Regions from separate parts of the Homo sapiens genome. Here all the other regions are linked to region 3. The links are contacts of gene promoters, found by promoter capture Hi-C in human tissues and cell types (Jung and others, 2019). All regions are on one chromosome and are shown on one strand. The core of a region is centred on a gene start or on the middle of the fragment in contact, and the rest is flanking DNA. Distances in the headings are between cores, read along the strand shown.

Region 1 (3,042 bases), core at 382-2,881, 280 kb after region 3:
TTTAAAATGTGAAATGAAGCAGGAGTTGAAGAAACTAAGGCTCAGAAAGGTAAAGAGTCTGTTGGTCAGTGACAGAGACCAGATTTGAACCCATGTACTTCTTAGGACTTGCTCTGCTCACGATGCTGCCTTGCTCTGCCAGCAAGATATGAGGGAGTGGTGCTCGGCGAGGGAGCTAGAAGGTGCAGAAATCACAGCTGCTGCACAGAAAGATCCATGCTTCAACTTTTGTCCTTGTTTAGGCTGCAGGTGCTCTCTGCAAATCCCAGGAGGAACAAGCAGCTAATAGGGTGGCTAGGTTGGCCTGGCATCTTGTCAGATTTGTTGATTTTGGTTTAAGGTTATTGCCAAACTCAGAGTAGAGCCTGGGTGCAGCAGGATCTCTGCAGTGGGCTTGAATGCCTGGGCCCAAACAAAGTGCATGAGTGTCTAAAAATAGTATATTAGGCTGGGTGTGGAGGCTCAGGCCTGTAATCCCAGCACTTTGGGAGGCTGAGGAAGGTGGATCACTTGAGGCCAGGAGTTTGAGACCAGCCTGGCCAATATGGTGAAACCCCATCTCTACTACAACGTACAAAAAATATTAGCCAGATGTTGTGGTGCATGCCTGTAATCCCAGCTACTTGGGAGGCCGAGGCATGAAAATCGCTTGAACCCGGGGAAAGGCAGAGGTTGTAGTAAGCTGAAATTGTGCCACTGGACTCCAGCCTGGGTGACAGAGCGAGACTGTGTCAAAAAAAAAGTATATTAGCTTCTTTTTGTACAAGGAGGTATAATACCAGTGTATCACCTTTGTCCTGCTAATTGTAATGTCTAAAATCACTCAAACTATTTTTTTTTTTGAGACAGAGTCTCGTTCTGTTGCCCAGACTAGAGTGCAGTGGCGCAATCTCGGCTCACTGCCAGCTCTGCCTCCCGGGTTCACACCATTCTCCTGCCTCAGCCTCCTGCCTCAGCCTCCTGAGTAGCTGGGACTACAGGCACCCGCCACCACGCCTGGCTAATTTTTTATATTTTTAGTAGAGATGGGGTTTCACCGTGTTAGCCAGGATGGTCTCGATCTCCTGACCTCGTGATCCACCTGCCTCGGCCTCCCAAAGTGCTGGGATTACAGGTGTGAGGCACCACGCCTGGCCATCACTCAAACTATTTTTTTAGCATCAGGGATAAAACAAAGTCTACTGTTCATTATGTCCTTGTCAGTTACGTCCTTTATACCATATGGATCAGGAGTTCCATAGAGCCTCAGGAGCCCTGCAATATTAAAGTATCATTTTTTCAAAAAAACTAATGTAACAATTATATGTGAATCTACAGTTACCTCAAAATAATTAAGAAAAAATTATTACAAACCATGTCTACTTTCAAGATGTTGTATACTGAATTTTAATACTTTGGAGATTGCTCCAGTATTTATTTTGTGCTGCCAAGGCAATTACTGTTTTGTGTAGAACTAGAAGTTTCTCTTGCTATCTTGGTTTAGTAGGATAAGGTGAATGACACAGTTAAATACTTGCCAGTAACAGTTTTTAAAAATGGCATCTAGAAGCCTCTCCAGGCTAGGCAGCTAATGCATCTTTACAGAAGTAAACACCAGAGTTGATAAGACTGCAGCAGCCAGCTAGCACCTGCTGGTTGTGGCGTGTGTGTTCATCACAGTGGCCTCATGATTCTCAGTGATTTACGAGTAAGTCATGTTATAAATTTGAACTTGGAAAATAAATTGAACCTAAAGAGATACTACTTAACATTGTTTTTCACACTGAGATTCCATGTGACATTTCATTTGAAACAAGTATTCTGCTCCCTTTTATAAGTCTGAAAAGCCACTAGAAAAACTGCTTGTTTCCCTTCCTACCTCTCCCCCTGGAGGTTTCAGGTACTCAGGGAAAATAGTAAAAAGCTCTGATGCTGTAGAAGTATATACTACTCCACAGATCTGGAGATATCTGCTGTTGGTTGGTAGGTGGAAAGAGAACTGACATGAGCGCTGACATTGTTGGGTATGTCTTGGAAGTGGGTGGTTGAAAGGGCTGTACTGAAGTCAGACAGGTTATGATTGAGCATGGAAGAGCGATTCTGTCATCCTTTTTTGTCACTTGGAATGGTAAGAATCGCCCCTCACGCGTCCTCACGGCCTGCTGTCTGCCAGAGCACTGTGCTGAGTGCTTCACCTGTGTGCTAATTGTCTTCTTCCTTGTGGCAGCCCCACAAGATAGGCATTGATGTCTCTCTACTCTGGACGTAAAGAGGCTGTTTGCCCTTTGTATCTAAGATGTTCCTTCAGACCAGGCATCCTTGGGTAAAGCGGGCTGGAGACACCCGTGTCAGCCTAGAAGGGCCCTGGGGACCCCTGTGAACTTACACACTCTCCCTCTTGCTCTGCTCCCAACAGAAGGAGTACTTCAAGCAATATGAAGTAGGGCTCCAAAACCTGTGCAATTCCTACCAGAGCCGTGCTGACTCCCGGGCCAAGGCCTCCGAGGAAAGCCTGCGCACCTCCGAGAGGAAGCTCCGCGAGACGGAGGAGAAGCTGCAGAAGCTGAGGACCAACATCGTGGCACTCCTGCAAAAGGTGCAGGAGGTGAGCCCGGCAGCCTTCCTGTTGCAGCTGGACCACCTGGTCTCTCAGGGAGGGGGGCCTGGGCCCTGTTCCTGTTCTCACAAGAATCTATCCACTCACAGGAATCTATGGTTCTCACCCTGGCTGCACAGCACCCTGGCAGGAGGGCTTGAGATGGTGTGGCTGCCTGGTCCTCAGCCCAGCCAGACCCATAGAACCAGGCTTTTTCCCTTTAGACATTCCGACGTACAACCTGGTTTGAGAACCCTCCAAGCCATAAAAACGAAGTTCTTTTCCACATGACGCCCAGATGGGATTGGGTAGCCCAGAAGTGGGGAGCACCCCTTAGCCTGTTGGCCCTTCATCCAGGCAATAAGCATGAGGGCCTGCTCTGTGCCTGTCCTGTGGATACAGAATGAACAAGACAAGCCAGAGAAGGTTCCTGCTCTCACAGCCTGCCAGTCTGGTGGAAGAGAGAG
Region 2 (2,972 bases), core at 50-2,549, 470 kb before region 3:
TCTCACTTTCGCCTAGCCTGAGTGCAGTAGCACAATCACAACTTAGCTCACTGTAGCCTCGAACTTCCTGGCTCAAGAGATCCTCCTACCTCAGCTTCCCAAGTAGCTGGGACTACAGTCATATGCCACCAAGCCCAACTAATTATTTTTTGGAAGAGACAGGGTCTCACTATGTTGCCCAGGCTGGTCTCAAGTGATCTCCTGCCTTGGCCTTCCAAAGTACTGGGATTACAGGCATGAGCCACCGCGCTTGACCTCCCCCGCCACCACTCCACCTTTGAGACCGTCACGCTCTATCACCCACGCTGGAGAGCAGTGGCATGATCACGGCTCATTGCAACCTTGGAACTCCTGGGCTCAAGCCATCCTCCTGCCTCAGCCTCCTGAGTAGCTGAGACCACAGTGCCATGACACCAGGCTAACTTTTTATTTTCTATAGAAGCAAGGTCTTGTTACATTGCCCAGGCTGGTTTCTAACTCCGACCTTCAAGCAGTTCTTTCACTTTGGCCTCCCAAAGTGCTGGGATTACAGGTGTGAGCCACTGCACCTGGCCAATATCACAATTCTGCGGTTCATTCTGGGATTTCTCCTTTTTATCTTATTATTTTTTTGAGACAGAGTCTCACTCTGTCCCTCTGGCTGAAGTGCAGTGGTGCGATCTCGGCTCACTGCAACCTCTGCCTCCCAGGTTCAAGTGATTCTCCTCCCTTAGCCTCCCAAGTAGCTGGGACTACAGGTGTGCATCACCACGTCCGGATAATTTTTGTATTTTTACTAGAGACGGGATTTCACCATGTTGGCCAGGCTAATCTCGAACTCCTGACCTCAGATGACCCACCCGCCTCGGCCTCCCAAAGTGCTGGGATTACGAGCATGAGCCACAGCACTCGGCCAGATTTCTCTTTTTTAAAAAGTGTTCTAGAAAATTCATAATTCTTCAACTTACAGGGTCATAAGTGAGTCCTTCATGACATCTTTCTCAAACCACCAGTCCCTCCTCCTTCCTTATCCACAGCTGATAGTTTTCCTTCGCATTTCACTGAGGAGGTAGAAGCAATCTGAATACAACTTCCACACCGACACTTGGCTTTTCCTTGCTCGGATCTCATGATACGTGTGCACTTGCTGCCTGTGCCGACAGTGATGCCCTTCTCTCACATTTCTACATGGTTCCTTCAGTTACTGTATTCAGATATGTGCCTTTCCAGATCCCTCTACTGGGAAGTGTACTGCCTCCCATTATATGTCCTCCTTATGGTGTGCGAGATAAGAGAAAGATTTTTTTTTCTTTTTTTGAGACAGAGTCTCACTCTGTCGCCCAGGCTGGAGTGCAGTGGTGTGATCAAGACTCACAGCAACCTCCACCCCGGGTTCAAGCGATTCTCCTGCCTCAGCCTCTCAAGTAGCTGAGATCACAGGCGCCCGCCATGATGCCCGGCTAATTTTTGTATTTTTAGTAGAGAAGGGGTTTCACCATGTTGGCTAGGCTGGTCTCGAACTCCTGACCTCAAGTGATCCACCCGCCTCGGCCTCCCAAAGTGCTGGGATTCCAGGCGTCAGCCACCGCGCCCGGTCGGTGATATATATATATATATATATATATATATATTTTTTTTTTTTTTTTTTTTTTTTTTTTGAGGCGGATTCTCGCTCTGTCGCCCAGGCTGGAGTGCAGTGGCGCGATCTCGGCTCACTGCAAGCTCCACCTTCTGAGTTCACGCCATTCTACTGCCTCAGCCTCCAGAGTAGCTGGGACTACAGGCGCCCACCACCACGCCCGGCTTATTTTTTGTATTTTTAGTAGAGATGGGGTTTCACCGCGTTAGCCAAGATGGTCTCGATCTCCTGACCTCGTGATCCACCCGCCTTGGCCTCCCAAAGAGCTGGGATTACAGGCGTGAGCCACGGCACCCGGCCTGTTTTATATATTTTTTAACACCACCACGTCCCCATATTATTCACGTTAAGCTCCTTGAGGTCAAAGACTTTGCTATATTCACTCTGGCCCCTCGGACATCTAGAACAAAACTTGGTCTTACGTGGTGGGAGCTCAGGAAATACTTCATGCGTCAATGAATGATTCCCGCCCCCGTTGCTACACAGACCTGCCCAAGTCCTCTTTACCTCGCTGACTCTCTGAATATTTGAAGACGCCCCCTAATTTTTCTCCACCCCTTCTTAAATTATTCCTCAAGGGACCTGGATTCTAGCTGCCCGAGCACTGACAGCGAAACCGGGCACTTCCTGGTATTCGGATATGCGCAGCGCCAAGCGCAGCCGCACCCACTGCTGGCCTCACGCCGTCTGATTGGCTGCAGCTCTCCGGAGGGGCGGGGCCATCCGAGAAGCTATCCATATTGGAGGAGGCTGCTAGTCCTTTGCTGGTACCTGCCGGGCTGGAGAGCGGGGAGGGTCACGTGGTTAAGACTCGCCACGTGGGCCGGGCGCGGTGACTCAAGCCTGTAATCCCAGCACTTTGGGAGGCAGAGGCGGGCGGATCACTTGAGACAGGCCTGGCCAACCTGGTGACTCTACTAAAAATACAAAAAATTAGCCGGGAGTGGTGGCGCGCGCCTGTAATCCCAGCTACTCGGGAAGCTGAGGCAGAAGAATCGCTTGAACTCGGGAGACTGTAGGTGCCGTGAGCCGAGGTCGCGCCACTGCACTCCAGCCTGGGAGAAAGACTCGCCTAAGCAGTTTCTCTCTTTTCTTTTGCATTTTTAATCTTAGACTTTTGGAGATGTTGAAATGGTCGCTGAAACACTGCAAACACAGGGATGGGGGACAGATCCCAAAGTATAGCAGCTACTCATGAGTCCCAGCGCCCCTCCTGTCCTTCCCCTACTGCTGCCTAAGTGGTCTTCCTAAAACACAAGTTTGCACTTGTCAGAACCACTCCTTAAGATCTCTCATGGGTTGCCCTCGTCTCCAAATAAAGATACTAACCACTGAGCTGGCCACGGTGTCTCAC
Region 3 (2,843 bases), core at 194-2,693:
AAGAGATGAAGTCTCGCTATATTGCCCAAGCTGGTCTCAAACTCCTGGACTCAAGCGATCCTCCTGCCCTGCCCTCCCAAAGTGCTGGGATTACAGGCATGAGCCACCACGCCCAGCCTAAAAAAATTTGTTTTAGGCATTTCCACCCCTAGCTCTCTCCAGAAGTCTGTTATCACCAGTGAAGAGAAAATCCCATGCTCCCTTGCTGAGGAAGTGACCCACTGGTAGCCCAGTCCTTGCATTCAAGATGAAGGAAGTGACTGTCCACAGACGGAAAGCCAGGAAGCAGGGGGCAGATAGCCAGCCCCCCTCCACCTCAATACCCTCTTGCCGCCTCTCCAAAGCTTCTGGACGCTGACCCTGGTGGACCCAGAGGTGGGCCACCCACACAGGTGGCTGGGAAACATAGGAGACAGAAGGTTCCTACTGCTGGGGGAAAAGATGGGGAAGGCAGGAAGCTGCAGGGTGGTGTGTGAGGTGGCGGGGAGGTGACTGCAGGTGCAACTAACCCAACTCTGAAGCTACCCTTCACCCTTAGACAACTCTTCCTTCCAGGAGGTGTTTGGCCGAATCCCTCTAGTCTTTAGTCTAGAGAGGCCAAGGGAGCTTCCACAGGAGGACTCAGAACCCCAGGTGGCCTACTTTCGCCACCTGTAGCAGAGATCTTTGGGCCCCAAAAAGAATGGTCCGATCTCTCCTTACCCTTAGTCCTGTCCTAAACCTCAAGGGGCTCCATACTCCCTTATTTTCTGCAAAGAGCTCCCAGCCCCGGGGGACTCCCAGACACCAAGATGCCCGCGAGAAGCCTTGGGTCTTGGCAGGGAAGTCACATCCTCCATTTCCCTCAGAAAACCCAGAACCCGGGGTAACTCTCCTAATTGTCCTGAACCCTAGAGGATCCTGTACTCCTCAAATTCCACAGAGCTTCCACTATAAGAGAACCCCATGCTTTTCAACTTCCTTAAAAAGGGTTAATTTGGGGGTCTGCGGCCGCCAGGTCCCTCCAAAAAGCTGGATTCCTGGCAGACCCAGAATCTCTTCCTCCCCGGGACCTCAACTCGCGGGAAGCCTCCCAACCCGCCTGCCCCTCGGAGCCCTCTGTCTCCAGGATGCCCTGCCTCCCCATTCCCGGAGTCCCACCCTCCAAATGCCTGGGGAGCGCTGTGCCCACCCCGCCTCCCAGCTTTTCTGAGGAGCTCGGACCCACGAGGACCCAACCAGCCCGAAACCCCCGAGAGACAGCCGGTTTCCCTCAGGCGCCATGGAACCGGACTTCGGAGATAACAGCGGGACAGGGCGGAGCAGCCCTTCCTTACCCGCCAGCGCGGACATGGTCCCGGGAGCGCGGAAATGGGGAGGAGGAGGCGGGGGACACAGCAGCTCCCCTCAGTTCCCTACAACTCCCCTCAGCTCCTGCCGCCGCCGCCTCAGGCGCGGGAAGACCACAGCCCCAGGCGCGAACGGGATGCACCGCCTACGGCGCCCTGGGAGGACCAAACCACACCTGGCACAGGGGACTGCCCGCCGACGCCCCGCCCCGCCGCTCTCAGGCCTCGCTCCCGAGACGCGGCCCCGCCCCCTGGCTCTGGCTCGGGCTCTGCAGCGGCCCTGGCGCCCCCTAGTGCGAGCGGCGTCCCCTCGAGGTGCTCCCGCCGGTAAGGTTGATTCTGCGGGGGCCGGAAGTCTCAACACGGATGACAGTCCGCACCCATCTAGTCGCCCTCATTTACAGATAGGGAAAGTTAAGGATCAGAGGCTAAGTTCGACTACATTGAAATGGCTTCGCTCATTAGGAGGAGAGCCGGGATGGGAGCCCAGGCCTGCTAACTGCCAGTTCAGAGCTCTTTCCAGTAGTGTTTGGAATCAGGAATATTACAATGGAGGAGCCAGGTCTATCCCACAAACAGCTTTGAGGATGGACTTTTCTTAGAAGCTTCTAGCTCAGAGAAACCACTTCTCTGCGCCACTATGAGTAAGCTGACAGTAAATAATCTCTAAGTCAAAGACAGTTGGAGGCGACCAACCAGCATTCCAGGAGCAGATCCTCAGCCAGGCCAATTAGGTTTAGCGCAGGACGCTGGAGCTTGTGCGCCGCATTGGAAGACGAGCACTCCCCTGCAGGAACATGGGCCTACCATTCCCAGGTCTTCCAACCTTTCAAAACATGCCAAAAATCCAGATATTTAGGTGAAATTTGCCACTTTTAAAAAATGTTGATAGCATCAAAAAGTTCTTAAAATGCCATGTAGACCAAATGAAACACACCTGGCCACTAGATTTGCCCTGTGGGCTGCCAGTTTACAATCTTCTATGAGGAGGAGGGATTACAGGACTAAGAGTTAGGACAGCTGACTGGGTTATGGCAGCTGCTAGCTGGCTGAGTAGCTTTGAGAACCACTTCCGCTCATTAGGTTTGGAAGGAGATTGGGGTCCTCTGTGTGATTAAGATATTAATACATCATCAGCCAGGCCAGCTGGTCCCTGATGACCCACCCTCCCATCAGATTCTCTCACGCTGGGTCTTTCACAATTGTCATTTCCTTACATCAGATTTAGATCACAGGAAACATGTCCAAATGACCAGAAAGAGGATGGAGCCCAGGGAAATGGATTCTGTCCCCTCCACCCCCACCCCTGACCAAAGACAAAGTTCAACCCAGCTGCCTCTGGTCCCAGCAGTTGGGTAAGCAAAGGCAAAGGCAAAGACAAAGGCGAGCACAATTCTCTTCCTTCCTGCTCTAATTCAAACCGGATGCCGGTCAGATTTTTCTCTTCTGGGTGTGGCAGGTGGCTCACGATGTCCTGAGTGTGCACAAAGTGCTGGGGAGGAGGGCTCTGTCCCA

Evidence for each region. Contacts are between HindIII fragments. The study calls those that stand out against the background at their distance.
Region 1: a fragment that was not itself captured here is called in contact with the fragment with the promoter of LIMK2 in region 3 in 1 of the 25 tissues and cell types used here (dorsolateral prefrontal cortex).
Region 2: a fragment that was not itself captured here is called in contact with the fragment with the promoter of LIMK2 in region 3 in 1 of the 25 tissues and cell types used here (spleen).

The regions. Positions count from the first base shown.
Region 1 is chr22:30,927,561-30,930,602 of GRCh38, reverse strand. MORC2 (MORC family CW-type zinc finger 2) reads left to right here. Exons shown (of 26, transcript NM_001303256.3): 25 at 2,396-2,584. Among named protein-coding and RNA genes, the nearest start is that of MORC2-AS1, 6.8 kb to the right of the region's middle. The HindIII fragment of the contact is 7,715 bases long and covers 1-3,042 here.
Region 2 is chr22:31,676,243-31,679,214 of GRCh38, reverse strand. No RefSeq gene overlaps it. Among named protein-coding and RNA genes, the nearest start is that of PISD, 16 kb to the right of the region's middle. The HindIII fragment of the contact is 6,331 bases long and covers 1-2,972 here.
Region 3 is chr22:31,210,898-31,213,740 of GRCh38, reverse strand. LIMK2 (LIM domain kinase 2) reads right to left here and starts at 1,443. Exons shown (of 16, transcript NM_005569.4): 1 at 1,317-1,443. The coding sequence starts at 1,332. RefSeq lists enhancers at 1-760, 1,723-1,902 and a silencer at 1,343-1,742. The HindIII fragment of the contact is 2,868 bases long and covers 153-2,843 here.